Linked DNA regions of Homo sapiens: region 1 is linked to region 2. The links are contacts of gene promoters, found by promoter capture Hi-C in human tissues and cell types (Jung and others, 2019). All regions are on one chromosome and are shown on one strand. Each heading gives the region's core, a stretch centred on a gene start or on the middle of the fragment in contact. The rest is flanking DNA. Distances are from core to core; before and after follow the strand shown. Region 1 overlaps CASR (calcium sensing receptor). Region 2 holds the start of ARGFX (arginine-fifty homeobox).

Evidence for each region. Contacts are between HindIII fragments. The study calls those that stand out against the background at their distance.
Region 1: a contact is called between a fragment that was not itself captured here and the fragment with the promoter of ARGFX in region 2, in 1 of the 25 tissues and cell types used here (lymphoblastoid cells).

Annotation. Positions count from the first base shown.
Region 1 is chr3:122,262,745-122,269,330 of GRCh38, forward strand. The region is part of intron 4 of CASR (calcium sensing receptor); the gene reads left to right. Among named protein-coding and RNA genes, the nearest start is that of CSTA, 59 kb to the right of the region's middle. RefSeq lists a silencer at 2,343-2,444. The HindIII fragment of the contact is 7,327 bases long and covers 302-6,586 here.
Region 2 is chr3:121,562,541-121,569,339 of GRCh38, forward strand. ARGFX (arginine-fifty homeobox) reads left to right here and starts at 5,409. Exons shown (of 5, transcript NM_001012659.2): 1 at 5,409-5,473. The HindIII fragment of the contact is 19,771 bases long and covers 1-6,799 here.

The sequences.
Region 1 (6,586 bases), core at 2,715-5,214, 700 kb after region 2:
TGTTCCCTTGTGAGTAAGAAGTATTTTTTGAGTACCTATTACATTCCATATACTAAGTGGCATAAAGCTAGTATTATTGTGTTTAGCCACCACTTTTGCCATTACATTACTGACAGCCTATACCAAGCCACCCAGCAGGTCAGCTAAGCACAGCTTAGGACAAAAGCAAATCAAAGACACAGAAAACAAAAACTCTTTGTAAAAAGATTTGATATTGAGTGTTTCAAAAAGAAGCACTGAAGTGGTTATCATAGAAAAAATCAGAACTTAAGAGGAGTTCCCACACTTGTTTAGCCTTGTTTTGTATTTTTGAATTACACACAGGAGAGACATCATAATCTTTTTCATTTCAAGAGCTTATATCCTAAATAGCTGTTCGGGTCTTGCATATGTGCCTTATTTTTTTCAATCAGACCATGTTTCACACTCCTTTTGTATTTTCCTTAGTTCCAAACTGACCTATCAGAGAGATTGCATGACAGTGGAGAGGGCGGGAATTCCTGAATTTGAATGGAATGTGCCAGCCTCCAGCTCCCCCATTTCCTAGCTGTGTGATCTTAGGCAAACCATGGCTGTAAGTCACAGTGTCTCCATCTGTGACACAGACTTAATGTCTAGCTTACTTTCCACTCAATGTTCTTTTGACTTAGGTTCATGACATTAAATGACATGATATATGTAAAAGCAATTTGTAAACTTTCAAGCTCTAAACAGATGTGTGATTATTATAGTAGGATTTCAGTACAGCTCTAATTAATCCATGAATTAGGTAAAAATGATAACTAGAACACCTTTGTATACAGAACCCAACCACCACAAACCCTTTGGGAAGGATACCAAGAAGCAAAAAGCACACAACTTGTATCAGTCACTGTAGAGATTCTCATGAAAGACAAGGAGTGACTGTCTAAGTTGGTCAAATAGGCCAGAATCTTCAAGTTCTCAGCCCTTCTTATATGGGAACCTCTTACCCAACCATCACTGTTGGCTAAAGTTTCTAACTTCTGTGGGGTACTCAGAGCTTCTTTCTTCACACGGAACCCCTACCTTGCCAAGATAGAGGTGCTGTAATAAAGGTCAGGCACTCTAAAGTCTTCAGGAGTGATGATGCTAAGGTATGGGGTTTTAAGTAGGAGGAGTAAGGGAGCAATCTTCTAGGTGGTTGTTACTATTGTCTTTTCTTTCTTACCTCTCACGTCCAATGCAAGGAGGACCTCAGTTCTTGAAAAAACTGCAAGACAAGAGTAGGGTTGAAGGAAAAACAGGCTTCAAGGGGGAAACTTGGCAGTTCTACTCTTCAATGGCTCCTCTTCCAGATAAGGAAATAAAATACAGATGGTCAAGACCAGACCTTGGACCTGTGAGAAAAAAAAAAAAGCCATGACAGGCTACAGTCACAACTGGGACTTTTAGTTGTGTAATAGAAAGCCCTAACCAAATTGGCATAAACAAAAAAAGAGGAAATGTAGTGAGTGGGTCATGTCACTAAAAATCTCAGAAGTGTTCCAGGTACAGCTAGGTATTTTCATCTCATCTTTCTGTTCTTCATTCCCCAGGGTTAGCAATTTTCAGCTTCTGTAGCAGCTTGAAGCTAGGATCTCCTTACTTCCCAAGATATCCTGTAAAAGTTCCAGAAACCACATTTATTGACCATTCCTAAGTCATGGATCCATCCCTGATGCTAGCAGTCCTCCAGACTACATAGACTTAGAGTAAGGGGGGAGTGAATCTCCAGTGGGAAGTCAGGATGCCATTACCAAAAGGAGGAAGAAATAGAAGCAAAGCAGCCAACATTCAAAATGTCCACTACACAGACACTTCACCCAACCATGGCCCAGGTAAAGATATGTTCTCCTGACTCTTACATGGTCTGGAAAAATCTCCCCAGGAGACAGCACAGATAGGAAAATGGGATCAGAACTCTAGGGAGGAATGACATGGGAAATTGGCCAAAATGTCCTGAGTGCTTGGTGTGAGTCTCCTTTGAGCCTCAGGAACCCAGGCTGTTGGATGGGCGTTCCAGAATTTGAGGTCTTGGCCAGGAGATGAACTAGCAATTATTCATTCTCATTATTAAGACCTATATCTTCATCAGGAAATCAACTAGCAATTATTCATTCATTCTCAATATTAAGATCTATATGGAAACTTATCACCTATAATCTAATCCAAGTCTCCAGCTGGAACTCCATGTCTGCCTTCTCTCAGTTCTTCCCCTATAAGCCAACCTGCATGACACCTCCTCACAAATCACTCATTAGTTTTTGGCACAGCATCTTTGCATAGGCCATAGCCCACACCAGAAGGGCCATCAATTTTTATCTCTGCTGTCATTTTCCACCAGGAACATTTAAATTGTTTTCAAAATCCACTTTCCCCTGGAAGTCTTTTCAAATCGTATTCCCACAACACATTTTCTGATCATTCTCGCTTCCTCATTTTTGATGTTTATATACCCAGCTTAAGCTTCCACAGCTCTTTAATTGACTGAAATAGACACTTATTAGTTAAAATTCTGGTTATAAGGGTCAATCACAATTTTTTTCCTTTCTTTCTCCCCAAAAAAATATTTATCAGTCAACTCATATGCCTCAAAAGTAGCACTAGCAGGTGATTTATGAGCATACAACTCACAATTGCCTCCTGACCTCTTCTTGGAGACCCCCAAGCCCTCCTCACATCCCTTCCCAGCTCTCTCTTCACTACTCCTTTGCTGTACTCTAAGCTTCATAAGATCCAGAACCATGCCTGTATTGTTCAGTACTATGTTCAGAATGCCTGTCGCTGGAATATTCATTGAATGAATGAATGAGTGAATAGCAGTCTAGTTGATTTGACCTGTCAACACTACCTATAGGCCTTTGCAGGGAACCGTTTGAGCCAACAACCCATTCTTGAATCAATCACTGTGGCCAAGGTATTCTAGGCTCTGTTTGGACAAGCTTTGGTCACGTGCCCACTATCAAGTTTGAGTGGAACATCATGTAAGTATGAAATCACCTTCTTTCTTCTCTCAGGATGATCATGCACAAGGTGTGCTTCCTACTCTCCTGCACCTCACACCAACACTCACTAGTCAGAAAACAGGCGTGCAGCCATGGTGAAGATGGAAGTCAGATGGAGCTGATCTTTCTAGGAATTCCTGGTACTGCTGGAAGTTGGGGAATGGGGGATAAATTGTGAGGACAGCCAGAGAAGATGGAAGGGAGATAAGAAAACATGGCTGGCGTTAGAGAAGGGAATTGGGCCTGGATCTTCCCCATGCTCTTACCACAGGAACTGGGCAAGATAATGAACTTCATTATCTTGTTCATTATCTGTGTGACCTGGCCCTCATTATCTGTATAAGAGCTGGAAGTCCTAGACCAGAGTGGGGGGGTTTCTAGTCTCTAATGTTCAGTTTAATTCAATTGACGCTACTAAGAATGTGTGCCAAGAGGTGATTTCCATTTATGCTTATAATGAGCAACCGTTTGACTTTAAAATCTTTTAGGGGAAATACCCTAAAAGACCACAAGATGGGAATATTATGGCATAAAAGAGTATGTTAGCTTCTAAGTGCATGCATGTCCTGTATTTGCCCCTCTTTTAGATCTATGTGTCTTTCTTGGTGGTGTTTTCTTTGTGAGCCTGTAAGTCTCTTTGTGTCTGTATGTTATGTTCTATGTTCAGATCTTTTTGTTTGTTTGTGTTTTGTTTTTTTGAGGCAGAGTCTTGCTCTGTCACCCAGGCTGGAATGCAGCGGCCCGATCTTGGCTCACTGCAAACTCCGCCTCCCAGGTTCAAGCAGTACTCCTATGTTTGGATCTTTCTACTAGCTTTTTTTGTTTCTCTTCCCCTTCGTTTATTCTTTTTCCTCATATTACTCCCCAAATAAAATAAATAATTTGGAAGCATATAATATTGGATAATAATCTCAAGTAAAATTTTATATTTCATTTTAAAAGGAACTGTCAGTTCCTTTTTAAAAGCAAAAGAAGCCAGGGGCAGTGGCTCACACCTATAGTCTCAACACTTTGGGAGGCCACAGTGGGTGGATCATGAGGTCAGAAGTTCGAGACCAGCCTGGGTAACGTGGTGAAACCCTGTCTCTACTAAAAATACAAAAAATTAGCCGGGTGTGGTGGCAGGCACCTGTAGTCCCAGCTGCTCAGGAGGCTGAGGCAGGAGAATTGCTTGAACCTAGAAAGCATAAATTGCAGTGAGCCAAGATCGCACCACTGCACTCCAGCCTGGGCAACAGAGCGAGACTCCGTCTCAAAATAAATAAATAAATAATAAAAAGAGTGTTCTCTCTCGGGCAGATATCTAAATTATCTTCTAACTTATGTTGCTTTTTTTGTGGATCAATCATTATCAATTTAAAGATTCCCTGTCATTGCTCTTAGGAGTGAAATGGTTTTCATCTCCATCTTCCCTGTTATGTGAATTAAAGGCAAGATATTATGCAGAAAATAAAACGCCCAAATGCAAAACTTGCAAGTCAGCCTGCCAAAAGAAATATTAAAGATGTTTAAAGAGGTGACTTAGAGATATGACTTGGTAAGCATAATAATTTATTGATTATAAGTGGATAACGTACAAATTTTGAGTAGAAAATATTCCACACTCATGTGATTTTATTTATATACCTGCTGTGAGGACATAGTACAATACAATTCAGGTTAGGATTTGAAGTAAGGAAAAAAAAATATCATTTGAGACGAGTCTTGAAGGGTAGATAAAATTTGTGGATACGGAGAAGGATCTACTCCTTGGAGGAAAGGTCACAAAATGTCCTGCTAAGCAAAAGAATACTGACTAAAAAAAAATAGTACATAGTGTATGATTTCATTTATGCGATACTCTGTCTCTACTGACAGAAAGAAAGCAGATCAGTGGTGGCCTAAGGCTGCAAGTGGGTAGAGGTTGACTTTCAGGGACACCACAGAACCTTTTGGGAAGGTGGCAGTGGTAGTTACCAAGCATATACATTTGCCCAAATTCAGAACTATACACTTAAAATGAGTGTATATAAATTATACCTCAAAAAAGTTGATAAAAAAAATAACGGAAAGTCCCCAGGTGGGGAAGTCCTGGCTACTCATGGAGATCAGGATGTCATTCAGGTTAGACCATTTTCCCACTTATGGCCCCTCATGTTGCCACAAGCATTACACATCTCTACCATTTCATTTTTAAAATATGTCCATTTTCTCAACCTACATTTTATACCAGTTAACCTGTTGTAACTAGAGATAGGCAACTTAATAGATGTCTAATTTCACTCCTGCATGTGAGTAGGTAGTATAGTGTAATGGTTAACAGTTTGGAATCTCAAGCCAGACTGAGTTGGTTTAAATTTTAATTGCCACCTAATTGCCTTATGACCTTGGGCAGTCACTTAGTGTCCTTGTGCCTCACTTTTCTCTCTCACCTGAGAAATAGAGATCATGAAACTTGTTAAGTTTATTATGAGGATACCATTACTTAATATGCACAGAGTGCTTAGGATAGTGCCTATATACTATGTGCAGTAAATATTAGTCTTGAGTATTATTCTTTTGTAGGTGAGGAGGGTAAGACCCAGAGAAGTCAGAATGATTTTCCTAAAGTAATATATCTAGCTAGTAAAAAAGCTACATCTGCTCCAGGTGATCTGTTCCCCAAAGAGGCCAAAGGAGTTGCTAAAAGAATGACTTTTGCCCTCTGGGCACCACATGCCTTCTAGCTCCTGAGAGGCTGCCAGATCAGCCAGTGGTTTCCAAGTGAAGACACTGGTCCACTGCCTTGAACCCTGGGTGTTCAACAATTGTCCTGACACCTCGGTCCTTACACAAAGAGAAAGTATAGTGTGCAAATAATTGAGAGTGCACACAGCCAACCAGGTTGGAGTCTATTAGACATCTCTGTCCATCTTGAATATTACTGTATTTCTTCTTTCTAAAACAGTGCCTGCTTGGCCAGTAGTGGTCCCTCAATAAATACTTGTTGAATAAACAAATGAATAAAGAAAGAAAATGGGACAAAAATAACTCCTGAGAGGACAGTGGAGGACAGTAACACAGTACCTAGATACAGGCACAGATAAGGGAGGTCAGTGATCTCAGAGAAGTGGTCAGAAAACTCTCACACAAGAAACCACAGTAATGCTGACTTCATAAACTGGGGCTGGAACTTAGCTCTGCATTGTTAACAAAGTAAATTACATGAAGGAAAGCATGTTTTGGTAAGGATTTTAAGAGTATAAACAGGGTTATTGAGGCATAAAGATCCAGAAACCATTAAATTTTAAATTATTCTTGTATTTTTAACTGATGTAGGCCTCCTAAGAATCTTTATCAGGAACAATTTATTAGCCTAATTTGTACTAATAAATATGCCTAAAAGAAGAAAAGAAGCAACTTTAAAAAAATTATTTTGGCCTTTTTATTTGTTTGCTTGTTTTTGTTTATTTCAGTTTAGAATTTAGATCATATTTTCAATCTTACTCGGCCTGATTCAGCCCAATTGAACTGGTTAGAACTCCCAGTATAATCTTGTATAGATATAGTGAGGACAGACATTACTGTCTGCATCTGATCAGGGGGAAAGCATTCAGTCTTTT
Region 2 (6,799 bases), core at 4,159-6,658:
TTTTCTCATTAAAAAATAATTAAATAGAGACAGGGTCTGGCTATGTTGCACAGGCTAGTCTCAAATTACTGGGCTCAAGTGATTCTCCTGCCTCGGACTCCCAAAGTGTTGGGATTATAGGCGTGAGCCACTGCGCGCAGTCTTTTTCTCATTCTTATAAAAAAAAATGACAATAATGAACTATGCGTCTGTTCAAGGGAATCCCAATCCCTTAAGAAACCCTGTTAATAGTTTGCTTCCTTCTCTCTTTAATTTTGGTTTTTCTTTATTGGCCTTTTTGTTTCAGTATATTTTCCTTTTTTTTTTTCTTTGAGATGGAGTCTTGTTCTCTCACCCAGGCTGGAATGCAGTGGCTCAATCTCAGCTTACTGCAACCTCTGCCTCCCAGCCTCAAGCAATCCTCCCGCCTCAGCCTCCCGAGTAGCTAGGATTACAGGCATGCACCCCTGCGCCTAGCTAATTTTTATATTTTTAGTAGAGACGGAGTTTCAACATGTTGGCCAGGCTTCTCTGGAACTCCTGACTTCAAGTGATTCACCCGCCTCTGCCTCCCCAAGTGCTGGGATTACAGGCATGAGCCACCGTGCCTGGCTGAGAAATTGAGTTTTGAAAGAGATTTAGAGAGAGGAAGGGTAAAAGAGGAGAAATAGAGGAGAAAGGGAGGGAAGGAGGAAGGAGGAGATGGATAGGAGTGCAACAGACTGACAGGAATAAGAGAATTTGGTAGGCATAGATAACCAAGAGACATTTAAGAAGTTGGCTGAGGGGCTGGGCGCAGTGGTTCACACCTATGGTCCCAGCAACTCTGGAGTCTAGAGTGGGAGGATCATTTGAGTCTGGGAGGTCAAGGCTGCAGTGAGCTATGATCATGCCACTGCACTCCAGCCTGGTCAACAGAGCAAGATCCTGTCTCAAAAATGCATAAATAAATGAAAGTTGGCTGGACACGATGGCTCATGCCTATAATCCCAGCACTTTGGGTGGCTGAGGTGGGAGGATCATCTCTCTCTTTTCTTTTTTGACATGGAGTCTCAGTCCCTTGCCCAGGATGGAGTTCAGTGGCCTGATCTTGGCTCACTGCAACCTCTGCCTCCCTGGTTCAAGCGATTCTCCCACCTCCACCTCCCGAGTAGTATTAGCTGGGACTACAGGCACGCACCACTGGGCCTGGCTAATTTTCATATTTTTAGTAGAGATGGGGTTTTGCCATGTTGGACAGGCTGGTCTTGAAACCCAACCTCAGATGATCCACCCGCCTCGGCCTCCCAAAGTACTGGGATTACAGGCATGAGCCACCGTGCCCAGCCTGGGAGTATCTCTTGAAGCCAAGCCTAAGCAACATAGGGAAATCCCATCTCTACAAAATAATAATAATAATAATAATAATAATAATAATAATAATAATAGGTGTGGTGTCATGCATCTGTAGTCCCAGCTACTCAAGAGGCTTACTTGAGGATTACTTGAGCACTGGAGTTTGAGGCTGCAGTGAGCTATGATCACACCAGCAGTGTCTTCAGGGGAGACCTGTCTCATAAAAAAAAAAAAAAGGAGTGAGATACTGCTGAAAAGAATAAGATAGAGATTTTGAGACAGATATTGGGTTAAATTGTGAGGTTTCTCTGTAGCTACTGTGTTAGCTCTTTCTGCAACATCTGTCAATTATTGTCCCATTTCTTGGATCAATCCTTTAATGCCTAAATCTTTTTTTTTTTTTTTTTTTTTTTTTGAGACAGAGTCTCACTTTGTCACCAGGCTGGAGTGCAGTGGCACAATCTCGGCTCACTGCAACCTCCGCCTCCCAGGTTCAAGCGATTCCCCTGCCTCAGCCTCCCGAGTAGCTGGGACTATAGGCGCCCACCACCACGCCCGGCTAATTTTTTGTATTTAGTAGAGACGGGGTTTCACCATGTTGGCCAGGATGGTGTCGATCTCCTGACCTCGTGATCTGCCCGCCTCAGCGTCCCAAAGTGCTGGGATTACAGGCGTGAGCCACCATGCCCGGCCAAAAATGACTAAATCTTTTAATGCCAAAAGATTTAGGCATTGCTGGGCGCGGTGGCTCATGCCTGTAATTCCCAGCACTTTGGGAGGCTGAGGGGGGCGGATCACCTGAGATCGGGAGTTCAAGACCAGCCTGGTCAACGTGGTAAACCCCATCTCTACTAAAAATACAAAAATTAGCCAGGCGTGGTGGCAGGCGCCTGTAGTCCCAGCTACTAGGGAGGCTGAGGCAGAAGAATCGCTTGAACCGGGAGGTTGCAGCGAGCCTAGATCACGCTATTGCACTCCAGCCTGGGCAACAAGAGTGAATCTTCTTTCTTTGGTAGGATGCAGATCAACAGCTTTCATGTTTTGTTTCTAGATCTGATACATTAGTCTAAGACTTGTGCCCTCTGGGCCAGCTGGCAGAGCAGCAGGAAGGATCAAGGGTCAGAGCCCCCTCCCTGGTCCAGAGAAGTGTAGGCTAGCAAGCTGATAGTACTACCAAAGTGGGAAGCAAGAGACAACTGTGTTATAGTCATAATTGGAGACCCCTTCCACTCTGCTTAGTCCCAGAATAGTGCTTGTTACCAGTAGGTGCTCAATTAATAAGTCATCAATGAATGAATAAATTTAAAAAACAAATAAACAGATGAATAAGTAAGACCAGTCATTTTGAGGGAGATGGTGGCAGGGCTGAGTGGGCACAGTACTACAGAAAAAACAAAATTTAACGTCAAGAAAAAGTATCAGCCACAGTGATAAAAGATACATATCAGACTCTGGCATTATGGCTAAACAAGCTGCAGCTCTGAAAGTTCAGGAGAGGCTGGGCATGGTGGCTCACGCCTGTAATTCCAACACTTTGGGAGGCCAAGATGGGAGGATCACTTGAGGTCAGGAGTTTGAGACCAGCCTGACCAATATGCTGAAACCCTGTCTCTACTAAAAATACTAAAATTAGCTGGGCACGGTGGCGGGCGCCTGTATGCCTCCCAGCTATTCGGGAGGCTGAGACACTCTGGACAAAGTGCACATCTTTTAAAAGCAACTAGAGGCCAGGCACAGTGGCTCATGCCTATAATCTCAGCACTTTAGGAGGCCGTGGCAGGCGGATCACGAGATCAGTAGTTTGAGGCCAGCCTGGCCAACATGGTAAAACCCCGTCTCTACTAAAAAAATACAAAAAATACATATATATATATATATATATACACACACACATATATATGTGTGTATATATATATGTATTTTTTGTATTTTGTGTATATATATATATACACACATATATATATATATATGTGTATATATATGTGTGTATATATATAGCTGGGACATGGTGGCTAGCGCCTGTAATCTCAGCTAGTCAGGAGGCTGAGGCAGGAGAATTGCTTGAACCTGGGAGGCAGAGGTTGCAGTGAGCCGAGATTGTGCCACTGCACTCCAGCCTGGGTGACAGAGCAAGACTCCATCTTAGAAAAATAAAATAAAATAAAATAAAAGCAACTAGAGAGTAGAGAACAATTACCTGCAAAGGAATAAAAGTTTGGATGTTAGCAGACTTCTCAAATAAATGGCTTCTGTACTCACCTAACCTATTATGCAAGAATGATAACGTAATAAAGATATTTTAGACAAAGAAAGTTTGAAAATGTTTACAGTTAAAAGAACTATTTTTGATTCTACATCAGAAAAAATAAAACTGTGCCCAAAAGAAAGAGGATGAAAGAAGCAATGATGATCAAAGTACTTGATAAACATATGGTTAAATCTAAATAAATATTTATGACAAAAATAATAATGACCACTTTTAGGAACATAAAAGCAAACTTAGGCTGGACGTAGTGATTCATGCCTGTAATCCCAGCATTTTGGGGGGCCAAGGCAGGAGGATCACTTGGGCCCAGGAGTTCTAGACCAGCCTGGGCAACCTAGCAACACCCCATCTTTACAAAAAAAAATTTTTTTTAATTAGCTGGGGGTGGTGGTGCATATCTGTAGTCCCAGCTACTGGGGAGGCTGAAGTGAGAGAATCATTCTAGCCCAGGAGGTCAAGGCTGCAGTGAGCCATGATGGCACCACTGCAGTCCAGCTTGGGTGACAGAGTGAATACCATCTCTAAACAAAGAATAAAGAAATAAAAATAATGTAACTTTAAATCTTGCATATAACTTACATACCATTTGAGAGGGGGAGAAAATAAAAGGCAACCATTCTAACAGAAGGCTGGAAAAGTTAAAAACACACAAAGATTGTAAGAAATTAGGTAGAAATAAGTAGTGATCCCCCCATTATCCATGGGGATACATTCCAGGATCCTCGGTTTCTTCCTATACGACTGCATTGTATAGGCCAGGTAGCTTATACAGCATGGATACACTGGACAAAGGGATGATTCACATCCTGGGCGGAGCAGTACAGCCAATTTAAAATTTGAGCATTTAAAAAAAAAGGGCTGGACACGGTGGCTTACGCCTGTAATCCCAGCACTCTGGGAGGCCAAGGCGGGCGGATCACTTGAGGTCAGAAGTTCAAGACAGCCTGATCAACATGGTGAAACCCCGTCTCTACTAAAAAAAATACAAAAACAGCTGGTGGGTTGCACATGCCTCTAATCGTAGCTACTTGGGAGGCTGAGGCAGGAGAATCGCTTGAACCGGGGAGGTGGATATTGCAGTGAGCCGAGATGATGCCATTGCACTCCAGCCTGGGCAACAAGAGTGAAACTCCGTCTCAAAAAGAAAAGAAAAGAAATGAAAACTAACACATTTTTTATTTATGGAAGTTTCCATTTAATATTTTTGGGTGGCAGTTGACTGAAACCACAGAAAGCAAAACTGTGGATAAGGTGGGATTACTGTGTTCTTATCCTATCAAACATAAATGGATTATTCCATAAGAAAATTCTTAGATCAGATCACTATTTTAAAGATACACTCCTAAAACTTTACTTTTATTTTTTTGAGATAGGGTCTTGCTGTCTCGCTCTGTTGCCCAGACTGGAGTAGACTGGTGCAATTAGGGCTCACTGCAGCCTCAACCTCCCAGGCCCAAGTGATCCTTCCACCTCAGCCTCCCGAATAACTCAGACCACAGGCGTGTGTTACCACGCCTAGAGGAATTTTACACCTAAAACTTTGAACAACGCAAGTGTAAAAGTAAAAAGGTGGTTGCATCAAAAAGCACAGGAGTCGCCTTGAAGGGTTGTCAAAGGTAGGAAGTTTGAGTATAAAAAAAGAATAATTACTATTTTCAGCAACAGTTACACTATGCTCTAAGCATACTTATATTGAATGAACAAATGAATGAATGAAGGGTGGGACATCAGGGTGTGTCTGGGTGGTGCAGGGGCAGGAGGAGGTCTGATTGTATAAAAATTACATTTAAATACAGGGTCTTCTGCATGAGGACACACTAAGGAAACTGCATTTCCAGAGAGAGACACACCACGTAGGACTGAAAATGGTTACTCTAAGGGGATTCGTGACAGGTAAGCATGGGGGAGCGGGGAGGGTAGCCAGAATGTGGGGCTTTAAGTGCTCAAAGAGGATTTGAAAAATCAAAGGAGCAATATTAAAGGATGCAAACCACTCAGCCCATTCACATTAGAGGGACATGATATAGATGGTTGGGGACAGAAGGAAGGTCAGAAAGACTGACTGTTCACCTCATGAAAATCAGGGAGTGAATGTGAGACTCCTTACTTACTGAGTGTGGTTGTCAGTTCTGCAGGGCTCCCAAACTTTCTCCATCTGTGTTAGCCAGGCCTTTGGAAATCCTTAATTAGAATGTAAACTCCATCATAGCAACTATTTTTGTGTACTTCGTTCATTGCAGAATCCACAGACCTATGTAAGTGCCCATTTGTAGGAAGAAGGCAATAAAAAATTGCTGAGTAAATGTGGTTCTGCTAGTGGCAATTCTGCCTTATGCTCTTGATAGCCTCGATCAGGGAAAGCACTGTAGACCAGTTGAATCGTTTGCTTCTTTGTTTCTTTAATATGCTAGTTTAAGCTACAGACTCTCAATGCCCATCCCAGGAAAGTGGGCCAGGGTTTAGACTGTGTGTACAAGAGTCAGTAAGACCTGATTCATTCCCAGCTATGCTTCTTCTCTACCTGGCCAAACTTTTAGATCTCATGTCTCTTCATCTTTAAGAGGTTGATAATAATTGTCCATTACCCCATGTGTTTGTCGAGGATCACATGAATCATGTATATGAAGCACTTGGATGTCTGACGGTATCCTAATGTTGCTACTGAATGTTACTGCATCATTTATTTACTCTTAGGATTGTACTGAAGAACAGATGCTTAGTGAAGTTTAATTTCTTTTCAATTAAATGCTAAGCCTTAGGCCATCTGTTGTTATTGCTGTTCCAATTTTTTGGTCTCAGAACCTCTTTATATTCTTAAAAATTGTTAAGGACTCCAAAGAACTTTTGTTTCTATAGGATATACCTAGATATTTACCATATTCAAAGTGAAAACTGAGATTAAAATATATTTATTCATTCCTTTCAAAATAAAATGATAAATGCGTGACGTGTTAACTATATTTTCCACACACAAAAAAAAATTGTGAGACCAATGGCATTGTTTTACATTTTAGTACTTTAGGGCTTAATGGAAGATGGCAGAATTCTCTCCTGCTTTTGCAGTCACCTTTTCTGATGCATTACTCTATTGAAGTGTAAGAAGAAAATCTGACCTCATACAGATATGATGCTAGAAAAAGGAGTATTCTTGTAGCCTTTGAAATAATTGTGGATATTCTTTGAAATTACAACACAAACTCAACAAGTAGCAGTTTCTTA